Regions from separate parts of the Homo sapiens genome. Here region 2 is linked to region 1. The links are contacts of gene promoters, found by promoter capture Hi-C in blood cells and fetal thymus (Javierre and others, 2016). All regions are on one chromosome and are shown on one strand. Each heading gives the region's core, a stretch centred on a gene start or on the middle of the fragment in contact. The rest is flanking DNA. Distances are from core to core; before and after follow the strand shown.

The links. The method cuts DNA at HindIII sites, captures the fragments that hold promoters and counts their contacts. A CHiCAGO score of 5 or more calls a contact.
Region 2: a contact is called between a fragment that was not itself captured here and the fragment with the promoter of ADRB2 in region 1, in 1 of 17 cell types (monocytes). The highest score is 5.6, in monocytes.

Annotation. Positions count from the first base shown.
Region 1 is chr5:148,823,228-148,829,496 of GRCh38, forward strand. It overlaps ADRB2 (adrenoceptor beta 2), which reads left to right and starts at 3,384. Exons shown (of 1, transcript NM_000024.6): 1 at 3,384-5,396. The coding sequence starts at 3,605. The coding sequence ends at 4,846. RefSeq lists enhancers at 2,683-2,842, 3,699-4,284 and silencers at 3,113-3,422, 3,513-3,652. The HindIII fragment of the contact is 9,818 bases long and covers 1-6,269 here.
Region 2 is chr5:147,797,414-147,803,294 of GRCh38, forward strand. No RefSeq gene overlaps it. Among named protein-coding and RNA genes, the nearest start is that of JAKMIP2, 18 kb to the left of the region's middle. The HindIII fragment of the contact is 5,784 bases long and covers 1-5,016 here.

The DNA.
Region 1 (6,269 bases), core at 2,134-4,633:
CCAAAGTGCTAGGATTACAGGCATGAGCCACTGCGCCCGGTCTGTTTCCTGATGTGTTAATGATCGCCATTGTATCTGGTGTGAGATGGTATTTCATTGTGGTTTTGATTTGCATTTCACTAATAACCAGTGCTGATGATCTTTTCTTCATATGTTTGTTGGCTGCATTAATGTCTTCTTTTGAGAAGTGTCTGTTCATATCCTTTGCCCACTTTTTCATGGGGCTGTTTGTTTTTTCTTGTAAATTTGTTTAAGTTCTTTGTAGATTCTGGATATTAGCCCTTTGTCAGATGGATAGATTGCAAAATTTTTCCCCCTTTCTGTAGGTTGCCTGTTCACCCTGATGATAGTTTATTTTGCTGTGCAGAAACTCTTTAGTTTAATTAGATCCCATTTGTCAATTTTGGCTTTTGTTGCCATTGCTTTTGATGTTTTAGTCATGAAGTCTTTGCCCATGCCTATGTCCTGGATGTTATTGCCTAGATTTTCTTCTAGGGTTTTTATGGTTTTAGGTCTTACGTTTAAGTCTTTAATTCATCTTGAGTTAATTCTTGTATAAGGTGTAAGGAAGGGGTCCAGTTTCAGTTTTCTGCATATGGCTAGCCAGTCCTTCTTGATTTAGTATTTGTGGGTTTTAAAAAAGGAGTTTCCCAAAATATTCAGTTAAACTTTTAAGTGACTTACGTGTATATCTAAATACATGATCAGTTAATATTTGTCTTAAAGGGGTTTTCTTTGTTCTTTTCTTATTATAGGAAGGTTAAACAATATGCTTATTTATGCCATAGCTTCACAAACAGGAAGGAGGTTTTAAATGGTTTAGTTCCACAATTTGAGTAGATGCATATTTAAAGAAACGTTGTTGCATAATAAATACTGCCTCTTCCTAAAATGCATCATGCCACAGCCAATTTTGGAAAACACAAATATGAGGTGAGTGTATTTTGAAAACTATGTGAATATAATAGATCTTTAATTCATATTTGTGGATTTTATGGGAAATACTTGTTTTCTAAGGCATCTGTCTTGCAAAAAGTCAGTTTCTGCTATGAAGGATGTTAAAGGGGATATGTAGGTTAAATTCTGTTTCTGAGCTTTGCTTCCAGAGTAAACACCCAACTTACTTTTGCCCTAAAGTATTTTATTGTTCTAGTAGAGAAGACTAACAACATATTCTAAACCACTAAGTAATTTATGTAAACTTCGCTTACAAACTACACTTGTGTGACACTTATATGAGCAAAAGCATTTTCATATTTCTTACTATATCATTCAATTCTTGCTTACCCCAATGGAAGTGACTTTATGCCCCTTTAGAGACAATGGAAATCAGGTACTTCGTGATTTCTCTTAAAAAAAAAAAAAATGAACTAGAAAGCTCCAAGTTTGGTGAATCTGGAACCTGGGTATTCCAGTTCCAGTTGTAGCCCTTCCTCCCTATCCATCACTCCTGTCTGCATGTAATTATGCAATACATTGAAAAGATTAAAAGATGGGTCTTGGACTCAGGCAGACCTGGGTCAAATCCAGATTCTGGCACTGCCCAGCCATTGCCCCTGGGCAAGCCATTTTCCTCTTTGAACCTCATTTGTGAATTAAGCTAAAAATAGTCCCCACCCCCATGGGACTGTGGGAAGGATTAAATAGAATAATGCATGAAAAGCAAATAGCAGAATGGTCCATAAATGTTAACCATTGTTATGTTATTATGTAATCTACAAAGTACGTTTAGTTACACTTCATGAAATACTTTCAGTTTTTCAAAGACACCACTAATACATGGGAAATCAAACCCTGAAAATTAATTTCACTTTAGCAGTAAAGTCACATGCCAGATGGAAAGGATAGTATTTCATGAACAAAGATCTTACTTTTGAGATTTGGTCTTACTTTTTTCTTTTTCTTAAGGGAGAATTATCTTGTGTTTTTTGTTTTGTTTTGTTTTGAGATGGAGTCTTGTTCTGTCACCCAGGCTGGAGCGCAGTGACGTGATCTCGGCTCACTGCAACCTTCACCTCCCGGGTTCAAGAGATTCTCCTGTCTCAGCCTCCCGAGTAGCTGGGACTACAGGTACGTGCCACCACACCTGGCTAATTTTTGTATTTTTAGTAGAGACAAGAGTTACACCATATTGGCCAGGATCTTTTGCTTTCTATAGCTTCAAAATGTTCTTAATGTTAAGACATTCTTAATACTCTGAACCATATGAATTTGCCATTTTGGTAAGTCACAGACGCCAGATGGTGGCAATTTCACATGGCACAACCCGAAAGATTAACAAACTATCCAGCAGATGAAAGGATTTTTTTTAGTTTCATTGGGTTTACTGAAGAAATTGTTTGAATTCTCATTGCATCTCCAGTTCAACAGATAATGAGTGAGTGATGCCACACTCTCAAGAGTTAAAAACAAAACAACAAAAAAATTAAAACAAAAGCACACAACTTTCTCTCTCTGTCCCAAAATACATACTTGCATACCCCCGCTCCAGATAAAATCCAAAGGGTAAAACTGTCTTCATGCCTGCAAATTCCTAAGGAGGGCACCTAAAGTACTTGACAGCGAGTGTGCTGAGGAAATCAGCAGCTGTTGAAGTCACCTCCTGTGCTCTTGCCAAATGTTTGAAAGGGAATACACTGGGTTACCGGGTGTATGTTGGGAGGGGAGCATTATCAGTGCTCGGGTGAGGCAAGTTCGGAGTACCCAGATGGAGACATCCGTGTCTGTGTCGCTCTGGATGCCTCCAAGCCAGCGTGTGTTTACTTTCTGTGTGTGTCACCATGTCTTTGTGCTTCTGGGTGCTTCTGTGTTTGTTTCTGGCCGCGTTTCTGTGTTGGACAGGGGTGACTTTGTGCCGGATGGCTTCTGTGTGAGAGCGCGCGCGAGTGTGCATGTCGGTGAGCTGGGAGGGTGTGTCTCAGTGTCTATGGCTGTGGTTCGGTATAAGTCTGAGCATGTCTGCCAGGGTGTATTTGTGCCTGTATGTGCGTGCCTCGGTGGGCACTCTCGTTTCCTTCCGAATGTGGGGCAGTGCCGGTGTGCTGCCCTCTGCCTTGAGACCTCAAGCCGCGCAGGCGCCCAGGGCAGGCAGGTAGCGGCCACAGAAGAGCCAAAAGCTCCCGGGTTGGCTGGTAAGGACACCACCTCCAGCTTTAGCCCTCTGGGGCCAGCCAGGGTAGCCGGGAAGCAGTGGTGGCCCGCCCTCCAGGGAGCAGTTGGGCCCCGCCCGGGCCAGCCCCAGGAGAAGGAGGGCGAGGGGAGGGGAGGGAAAGGGGAGGAGTGCCTCGCCCCTTCGCGGCTGCCGGCGTGCCATTGGCCGAAAGTTCCCGTACGTCACGGCGAGGGCAGTTCCCCTAAAGTCCTGTGCACATAACGGGCAGAACGCACTGCGAAGCGGCTTCTTCAGAGCACGGGCTGGAACTGGCAGGCACCGCGAGCCCCTAGCACCCGACAAGCTGAGTGTGCAGGACGAGTCCCCACCACACCCACACCACAGCCGCTGAATGAGGCTTCCAGGCGTCCGCTCGCGGCCCGCAGAGCCCCGCCGTGGGTCCGCCCGCTGAGGCGCCCCCAGCCAGTGCGCTCACCTGCCAGACTGCGCGCCATGGGGCAACCCGGGAACGGCAGCGCCTTCTTGCTGGCACCCAATGGAAGCCATGCGCCGGACCACGACGTCACGCAGGAAAGGGACGAGGTGTGGGTGGTGGGCATGGGCATCGTCATGTCTCTCATCGTCCTGGCCATCGTGTTTGGCAATGTGCTGGTCATCACAGCCATTGCCAAGTTCGAGCGTCTGCAGACGGTCACCAACTACTTCATCACTTCACTGGCCTGTGCTGATCTGGTCATGGGCCTGGCAGTGGTGCCCTTTGGGGCCGCCCATATTCTTATGAAAATGTGGACTTTTGGCAACTTCTGGTGCGAGTTTTGGACTTCCATTGATGTGCTGTGCGTCACGGCCAGCATTGAGACCCTGTGCGTGATCGCAGTGGATCGCTACTTTGCCATTACTTCACCTTTCAAGTACCAGAGCCTGCTGACCAAGAATAAGGCCCGGGTGATCATTCTGATGGTGTGGATTGTGTCAGGCCTTACCTCCTTCTTGCCCATTCAGATGCACTGGTACCGGGCCACCCACCAGGAAGCCATCAACTGCTATGCCAATGAGACCTGCTGTGACTTCTTCACGAACCAAGCCTATGCCATTGCCTCTTCCATCGTGTCCTTCTACGTTCCCCTGGTGATCATGGTCTTCGTCTACTCCAGGGTCTTTCAGGAGGCCAAAAGGCAGCTCCAGAAGATTGACAAATCTGAGGGCCGCTTCCATGTCCAGAACCTTAGCCAGGTGGAGCAGGATGGGCGGACGGGGCATGGACTCCGCAGATCTTCCAAGTTCTGCTTGAAGGAGCACAAAGCCCTCAAGACGTTAGGCATCATCATGGGCACTTTCACCCTCTGCTGGCTGCCCTTCTTCATCGTTAACATTGTGCATGTGATCCAGGATAACCTCATCCGTAAGGAAGTTTACATCCTCCTAAATTGGATAGGCTATGTCAATTCTGGTTTCAATCCCCTTATCTACTGCCGGAGCCCAGATTTCAGGATTGCCTTCCAGGAGCTTCTGTGCCTGCGCAGGTCTTCTTTGAAGGCCTATGGGAATGGCTACTCCAGCAACGGCAACACAGGGGAGCAGAGTGGATATCACGTGGAACAGGAGAAAGAAAATAAACTGCTGTGTGAAGACCTCCCAGGCACGGAAGACTTTGTGGGCCATCAAGGTACTGTGCCTAGCGATAACATTGATTCACAAGGGAGGAATTGTAGTACAAATGACTCACTGCTGTAAAGCAGTTTTTCTACTTTTAAAGACCCCCCCCCCCAACAGAACACTAAACAGACTATTTAACTTGAGGGTAATAAACTTAGAATAAAATTGTAAAATTGTATAGAGATATGCAGAAGGAAGGGCATCCTTCTGCCTTTTTTATTTTTTTAAGCTGTAAAAAGAGAGAAAACTTATTTGAGTGATTATTTGTTATTTGTACAGTTCAGTTCCTCTTTGCATGGAATTTGTAAGTTTATGTCTAAAGAGCTTTAGTCCTAGAGGACCTGAGTCTGCTATATTTTCATGACTTTTCCATGTATCTACCTCACTATTCAAGTATTAGGGGTAATATATTGCTGCTGGTAATTTGTATCTGAAGGAGATTTTCCTTCCTACACCCTTGGACTTGAGGATTTTGAGTATCTCGGACCTTTCAGCTGTGAACATGGACTCTTCCCCCACTCCTCTTATTTGCTCACACGGGGTATTTTAGGCAGGGATTTGAGGAGCAGCTTCAGTTGTTTTCCCGAGCAAAGTCTAAAGTTTACAGTAAATAAATTGTTTGACCATGCCTTCATTGCACCTGTTTCTCCAAAACCCCTTGACTGGAGTGCTGTTGCCTCCCCCACTGGAAACCGCAGGTAACTACTTGTAATTACTGCCCATGACTTAATGTAGAATGATACAAGAATGACATGCACAGATTGCTTAACCCTTTCATTTGCCTTTGAGTCTGCTGCTGCAAAGCTGCATCTCTCCTGACACTTGTGCCCCAAATCAGTTCTGCCTGCTCTTAGTATAGCTCAACTCTCCCTATGGTTATTGTTCTGTGTTGTTACCTCAGAAACACTGACTCACAGAAGCGGAGTTAAGGGGATATGTTTTTTTCTCTCCACGTGCACCCACCACCCACCTTCCAGTTCTACTTGTTTCAAAACTGTTTATATTTCTGTCTTGGCCATGTGTTACAGTGGAGCTCTTTGTACTGCATCAGGGCTTGGCATTTTAGGGATAAGGAAGATGTTCTTATGAGGAAGCTACTCAGACATGGCCCCGTAATTCTGAGGGAAAATTCAAAAGGCATTGGTCATGGGGAGAAAAGCTGGAGAACACATAACTGATGGATACCTCATGAACTAGAAACAGAATTTTAACCCCTTTTCCTTCTTTCCTTTGGTCCCTGTTTTCTTCTCCCACTGACTCTCCTCGATTCAGTGTAAACCAAGGTTCTGAGTCTTAGCACTGTTAGCATTTTGGACCAGATAACTCTTTGTTATGGGGGCTGCATCATTGTATGTGTAGCACCTCTGGCCTCTGTTCATTAGATGCCAATAGCACCCCCTGCTTATAACAAGCAAAAATGTTTCCAGACATTGCAAAAGAGCCCCTGAGGTGCGAATTAGCCCCTGGTTGAGAGTCACTGGTAGAAACTGTAAAAATCTCA
Region 2 (5,881 bases), core at 875-3,374, 1.0 Mb before region 1:
CAATATTCCCTTAAGCCAAAGCCTAATCTAGAGTAAGGCCCTAACTGTCTTCAATTCTACAAGGCTGAAAGAGGTGAGAAAGCTACAGAAGAAAAGTTGGAAGCTAGCAGAAGTTAGTTCATGAGGTTTAAGGAAAGAAGCCATCTCCATAACAGAAAAGTGCAAAGTGAAACAGCAAGGGCTTATGTAGAAGCTGCAGGAAACCACTCAGAAGATCTAACTAGCTAAGATCATTGATGAAGGTGGCCATATTATACTACAGATTTTCATTGCAGACAAAAGAGCCTTCTATTAGAAGACGTTACCATCTAGAACATCCTAAAGAGGAAAAGTCAGTGCCTGGCTTCCGAGCTTCAGAGGACAAACTGACTTGTTAGGGGACAGCAGCTGTGACCTGAAATTGAAGCCAGGGTTCATTTACCACTCTGAAAATGCTGGAGCACTTAAAGAATGATGCCAAATCTACTCTGCCTATGCTCTGCAAATGAAACAACAAAGCCTGAATGACAGCACTTCTGTCTACAGCATGGTTTATTGAATATTTTAAACCCAATATTGAGAATTACTGCTCAAAAAAGTGATCCCTTTCAAAATATTTCTACTCACTAATAAGGTACCCAGTTACCCAAGAGCTCTGATGAAGATGTACAAGGAGATTAACGTTGTTTTTCATGATTGTTAACATAATGTTCATTTTCAACCTATGGTTCAGGGAGTCATTTTGACTTTCAAGTCTTATTATTTAATTCATTTCACAAGGCTATAGCTATCATAGATAGTGATTCTTGGGAAGGATCTGTGTAAAGTGAAAGTCTCCTGGAAAGGATTCATTATTCTGGATGCCATGAAGATCATTCGACATTCATGGAAGGAAGTCAAAAGATCAACATTAGTAGGAGTTTTGAAGAACTTGATTCTACCCTTATGAATGATTTTGAGGATTCAAGACTTCAATGGAGGAAATAACTGCAGTTATGGTGGAAATAGCAAGAGCACTGGAATTAGAAGTAGACTCTGAAGATGTGCCTGTATTCCTGCTATCTCATGATACAACTTTCACAGATGAGGACGAGGAGTTGCATCTTATCGATGACCAAAGAAAAGTGGTTTCTTGAAATGAAAACTACCCCTGGTGAAGATGCTGTGAACCTTGTTGAAATAGCAGCAAGGCATTTATAGTATTACATCAATTTAGTTGATAAAGCAGTGGCAGGGTTTGAGAGGATTGGCTACAATTTTGAAAGAAGTTCCATTGTGAGTAAAATGCTTTCAAACAACATTGGTGGCTATAAAGAAATCTTTCATAAAAGGAAGAGTCGATTGTTGTGGCAGACTCCACTGTTGTCTTACTTTAAAATATTGCCACACCACTCCAGCCTTCAACAACTCCCACCCTGGTCAGTCAGCAGCATCAGTATCGAGGCAAGCAAACAATTATGACTTCCTGAATGCTCAGATGATCATTAGCATTTTTTAGCAACAAAATATTTTAAATTAAGCTATGCGCATTGTTTTTTTAAGGCATAATGCTATTGCACACTTAATAGACTGCAGTACAATGTAAACATAACTTTTATACGCACTGGGAAACAAAAAAAATTCCTGTGACTTGCTTTATTCTGATATTCACTTTATTGTGGTCTGGACCAAACCTGTAACTTCACTAAAGTATGCCCATATATAGGGTTCAGTACTTTCTGCAGCATTAGGCATCCACTGAGGCTGTTGGAACATATCCCCCAGATTAGGGGATAGAGGGGGCTACTGTATCTCTCTAATCAAGTGATCAAAGTTAACATCACCAAGAGTAGAATGAACAGACATCCTATATATCTCTCTCTCTTTGTTTTTTTGTTTTTGTTTGTTTGTTTGTTTGTTTGTTTTGACAGAATCTAACTCTGTCGCCCAGGCTGGAGTGCAGTGGCATGAACTTGGCTCACTGCAATCTCTGCCTCCTGGGTTCAAGTGATAAGTGATTTTCCTGCCTTAGCCTCCTGAGTAGCTGGGACTACAGGTGCATGCCACCACACTAGGCTAATTTTTGTATTTTTAGTAAAGACGGGGTCTCCCCATGTTGGCCCGGATGGCCTTGAACTCCCGACCTCAGGTGATCTGCCTGCCTCAGCCTCCCAAAGTGCTGAGATTACAGGCGTGAGCCACCACGCCTGGCCCTGTGTCTCCTTAACATCATGCACTCAAAAGGACACAGCATCACTTCTGAGGTATTTCTACCAAAATGCATAATCTGATTCTAATCAGATAAAATAAAAGTTTTGTTTCTGTAATTGGTTAACTCCCCCAAGAGGATAAAGCCAACCAATAAATGACTGAATAAAGAAAATGCACACAGTTAAGAGTAAATAAGTAAAGCAGACACTAGAAGAGATAGGAGATGAGATGTATGTTTTCTCCCTTTGACTCTGCAGGTCCTTCTTCATGGTTCATATGTGACAGGAGTACTCAGCTGAGTTTTTGAATGCCTGGGGTATCATCTTAGCCCTGGCCCTGGTCCAGCAACAATTTGCATTGTTGACCAAATTTTGATGTAATTATTTTCAGTAAAGTATAGTTCAAATGTCTTGTAGAGCCTACTTACATAAAAGAATTTAAAAAGAGCCAAACTCTGCATTTTCCATCCTCTTATAAATCTTACTGCATTGGCACTGATATAATTTTTAGACCAGTCCATGCTAAAAGGAGCATTCTTCAAGTATAGTGCAGTAAAGAGCATTTAGAATATGTTGTCTGAAATGGAGAAGAGTTTCCTACAAATAAGCACATAGGAAGAAAAATCCCAGTGAAAATGGCAGGGAGAGCAGGACTAACCAGTAGGTCAAGGCAAGCAAACACGGTGGGAACAAGTTAAAGGTAGGGGCAGATTGCAGGATCCAGGTTCTGCAATACCATCCAGACAACATTATGCAAATCTTTAAAAAGAAGCCTTTTAGTCAAAGTCTCCCATTGATATTTAAAGTAATCTCAAAGGCCTGAGAACCAGTATTTTTGACAAAAAGAAAATTCTCATATGCTTTAGTATAGATGCATCATCCCTGGTTTAAGCACTGAAAATTGGTAATTTTGTATTTACGTAATGGCTTTAGAAATACTAGATTTTATATCAAAGACTAGATTGATTTATGATCTAACATAAATAGTAACATAAAAGAGGTAACTTAAATAGCTCCCTCTTGTTCTAATGAAATATATTTTCCGTTGACTACAGACTGAGAGACATAGCAACAAGGAATGCAAACTCCTTTGATTCCATATGGTGAAATGAAAACCTTGGCTCATCCATCATTCTTTACCAGTTGCTTTGAGCAAATAAATGCAGAGTTCTATCCTAGGAGAAGTGACTCCAGTTTTCCTCGATTATCAATTCAAAATCCTCTTGTGTGTAGCAAGGAGGACATACCCATTTAAATTAAGTTGATCTGGGAGACCAATGTACATGTCTTAAACTTGGTCTGCCTGGGACAGCAGATACATCCAGCCACAACTACTGAGAAAACAGCAAGATAAACAGGTAAAGATAAGGATTTAGAAGCGGCATCAAGTGCATGCCTAAATGAACCTGGGACTTGGCAGTGAGAATTACAGACCTTAGCTGAGATGAAGGGAAGGGAACACTAAAAATAGCCTTGACCTTGATGTGAGTATGATGTGAGCCCGGGAAATCCTACCTGAATGCGTCTTTGTTTTACTGTGGCCCTTACCTTACATTTTCTGGCCAATGTTGTCCTTGATGGCCCTATATATGTGCTTTTCATTCTCTTACACATAAATTGATCTCTTCAAGTTCAGGGGGAGCAACTGATCCTAGGAATCCTTACGTATCCAAAGGCAATTGCTGATGATTGTCCTGGGGATGTTTAACCGGTTCCTATAAGGTGGAGGCATCATGCCGAAGAAACTTAAGTGTATACCCCTCTCTACTTTTTCATTTCCAAGGGGAATTAGACAGCTTGGGATTTCATGGATGTCCAAGGGTAGACATCAGAAGTCAGGAAGGACAGAGGCTGATGTTTCTATTGATGCTCAATTTTCTGTTTTCCTTTTCAAAGAAAGAAAAAGGAGTGGTCCCTAAAATTCTCTTATTCTGGTTAGCTGGTGTCAAGGCCACAGTGGGCATCATAAACACCACCAGGTCTTCCTGCCTAGGTCTTCTATGTTCTAAGAGTAACTTTGTGTTGGGCAATACAGGGCTGTCCAGGTTACATGGGTCATAGTGGAAAGGGCAGTGTTATCTGCTGGGTAAACTTCACCCCATCTAGGTAAATTTACAGGAAAGGGCAGAGTTATCTGCTGGGTAAAACTTCACCCTTTCTAGGTAAATTCACAATTTCCTCTCTTGAGACCAAAACGTAGACCTTCCCACTGCTAAACTAATTCTGCCATAGTGGCAAACTCTTCCTTAACTTTTTGCCTCCCACCTGAAACTGATCCCCAGATAATGCTATCTCAAGAAAGCAAGTGCTGCTCAGGGGTTTGGAGGCCTAACTCTCTGTCCTAGCCTGGCTTGGTGACACTCCAAGGGAGTATTTCACACATGTTCCTTAGAAGATGTTGAATTATTTCTCTTTTATCATTCATAACTTAATGTCATTGATACAAGTCTGTCTCCAGTATGTTTAATTGAAAGTACTTTACATCAGGTAAGTAACTTCTGGCCTTTGACTCTGAATGTTTGAGAGAAAAATTCTATCTAGATTTATAAAACTATCACTTGATAAGCCTCCTCCTTCCTAGTCAGATGGGTGAAATACTTATGTTAGTTCTTAAAGACACAATCTGTAGAGATGTGCTTCCCTCTCTTGCAATAGAACTGTAGCTTTACGTGGTAAGACTCGATAGGGAAAAGCAGGACTTACGCAGAGAAGTAACTGCATATGTTACACTGGGGCAGTCTTTGGAAGTGTGTTGGGAATAGAGATGTGAAATGAATGAGAACTGTACCACAGGAATGATATCTTTGAGAACAATATCTTCCTTGAAGATGACTTGCCCCAGTGCTTAAGCTTGCTTCCCCATGCCTTACGTGTTCCTCTGTTCCGGCCCTTGAGAAGCTCTGTTATATCACCATTCTATGGTATAAGCAGGAGATGCCAATAGACATCAGTTCCCAGTACCACATCCTTGCCTCTGTTGATGGCTGTGCTTTCTTTTTTAATGGGCAGTGGCCCTTTCTCCCATTCCACTGTATGTAGAATTTTATCTGTTGAACATAAGGAGCAGTTCATCCAGGGATCCCCTATGATTGGGACATTTTGCTGAGTTATGCTTATGATCAGCAGTAGTCCCATAGAGGAGGCTGCTGCAGGGTTGAATATCTTGGCACTCTATGCCTTTGGAGTCACAAAGGACAACCCATTAGCAGTAACAGCCAGGGTTAGGGAGTCTCTGGATGAGGAGAAGGCATCATTGGCATTCTTCTTCCTTCTCCAGACTTAGCATCCCCTCTTTGTACTATCTCACAGTTCCACCACATTCTTTAATTTTTCAACCTTTTTTTTCTTTCCTTAAGAGGATTCTGATTCAGCAGAGCAAAGAAGGGGAGTGGTGCTCCTTTTCTAGGATCCGTCAACACAGTAGCTTCATCTTCAGATAGGATTCTGACCCCTCACCCTCAGCTTGGACCAATAACTTGCCTAACCATCCCCTTCAGAGCTTCCCAGATTTGTATTTAAGTACCTATCCCTGGTACTTAAATTCCCAGATAACTAAATGATATGTGATAATTCCAAGTTAATTGAATTACATTTGAATTGCAGTTCTATAGACTTTGGAACTTCTATTCTTTCCATGGCAGGGGAATGTGCACAGATAATGATATGGTTTGGCTGTGTCCTCACCGAAACCAAATTGAATTGTATCTCACAGA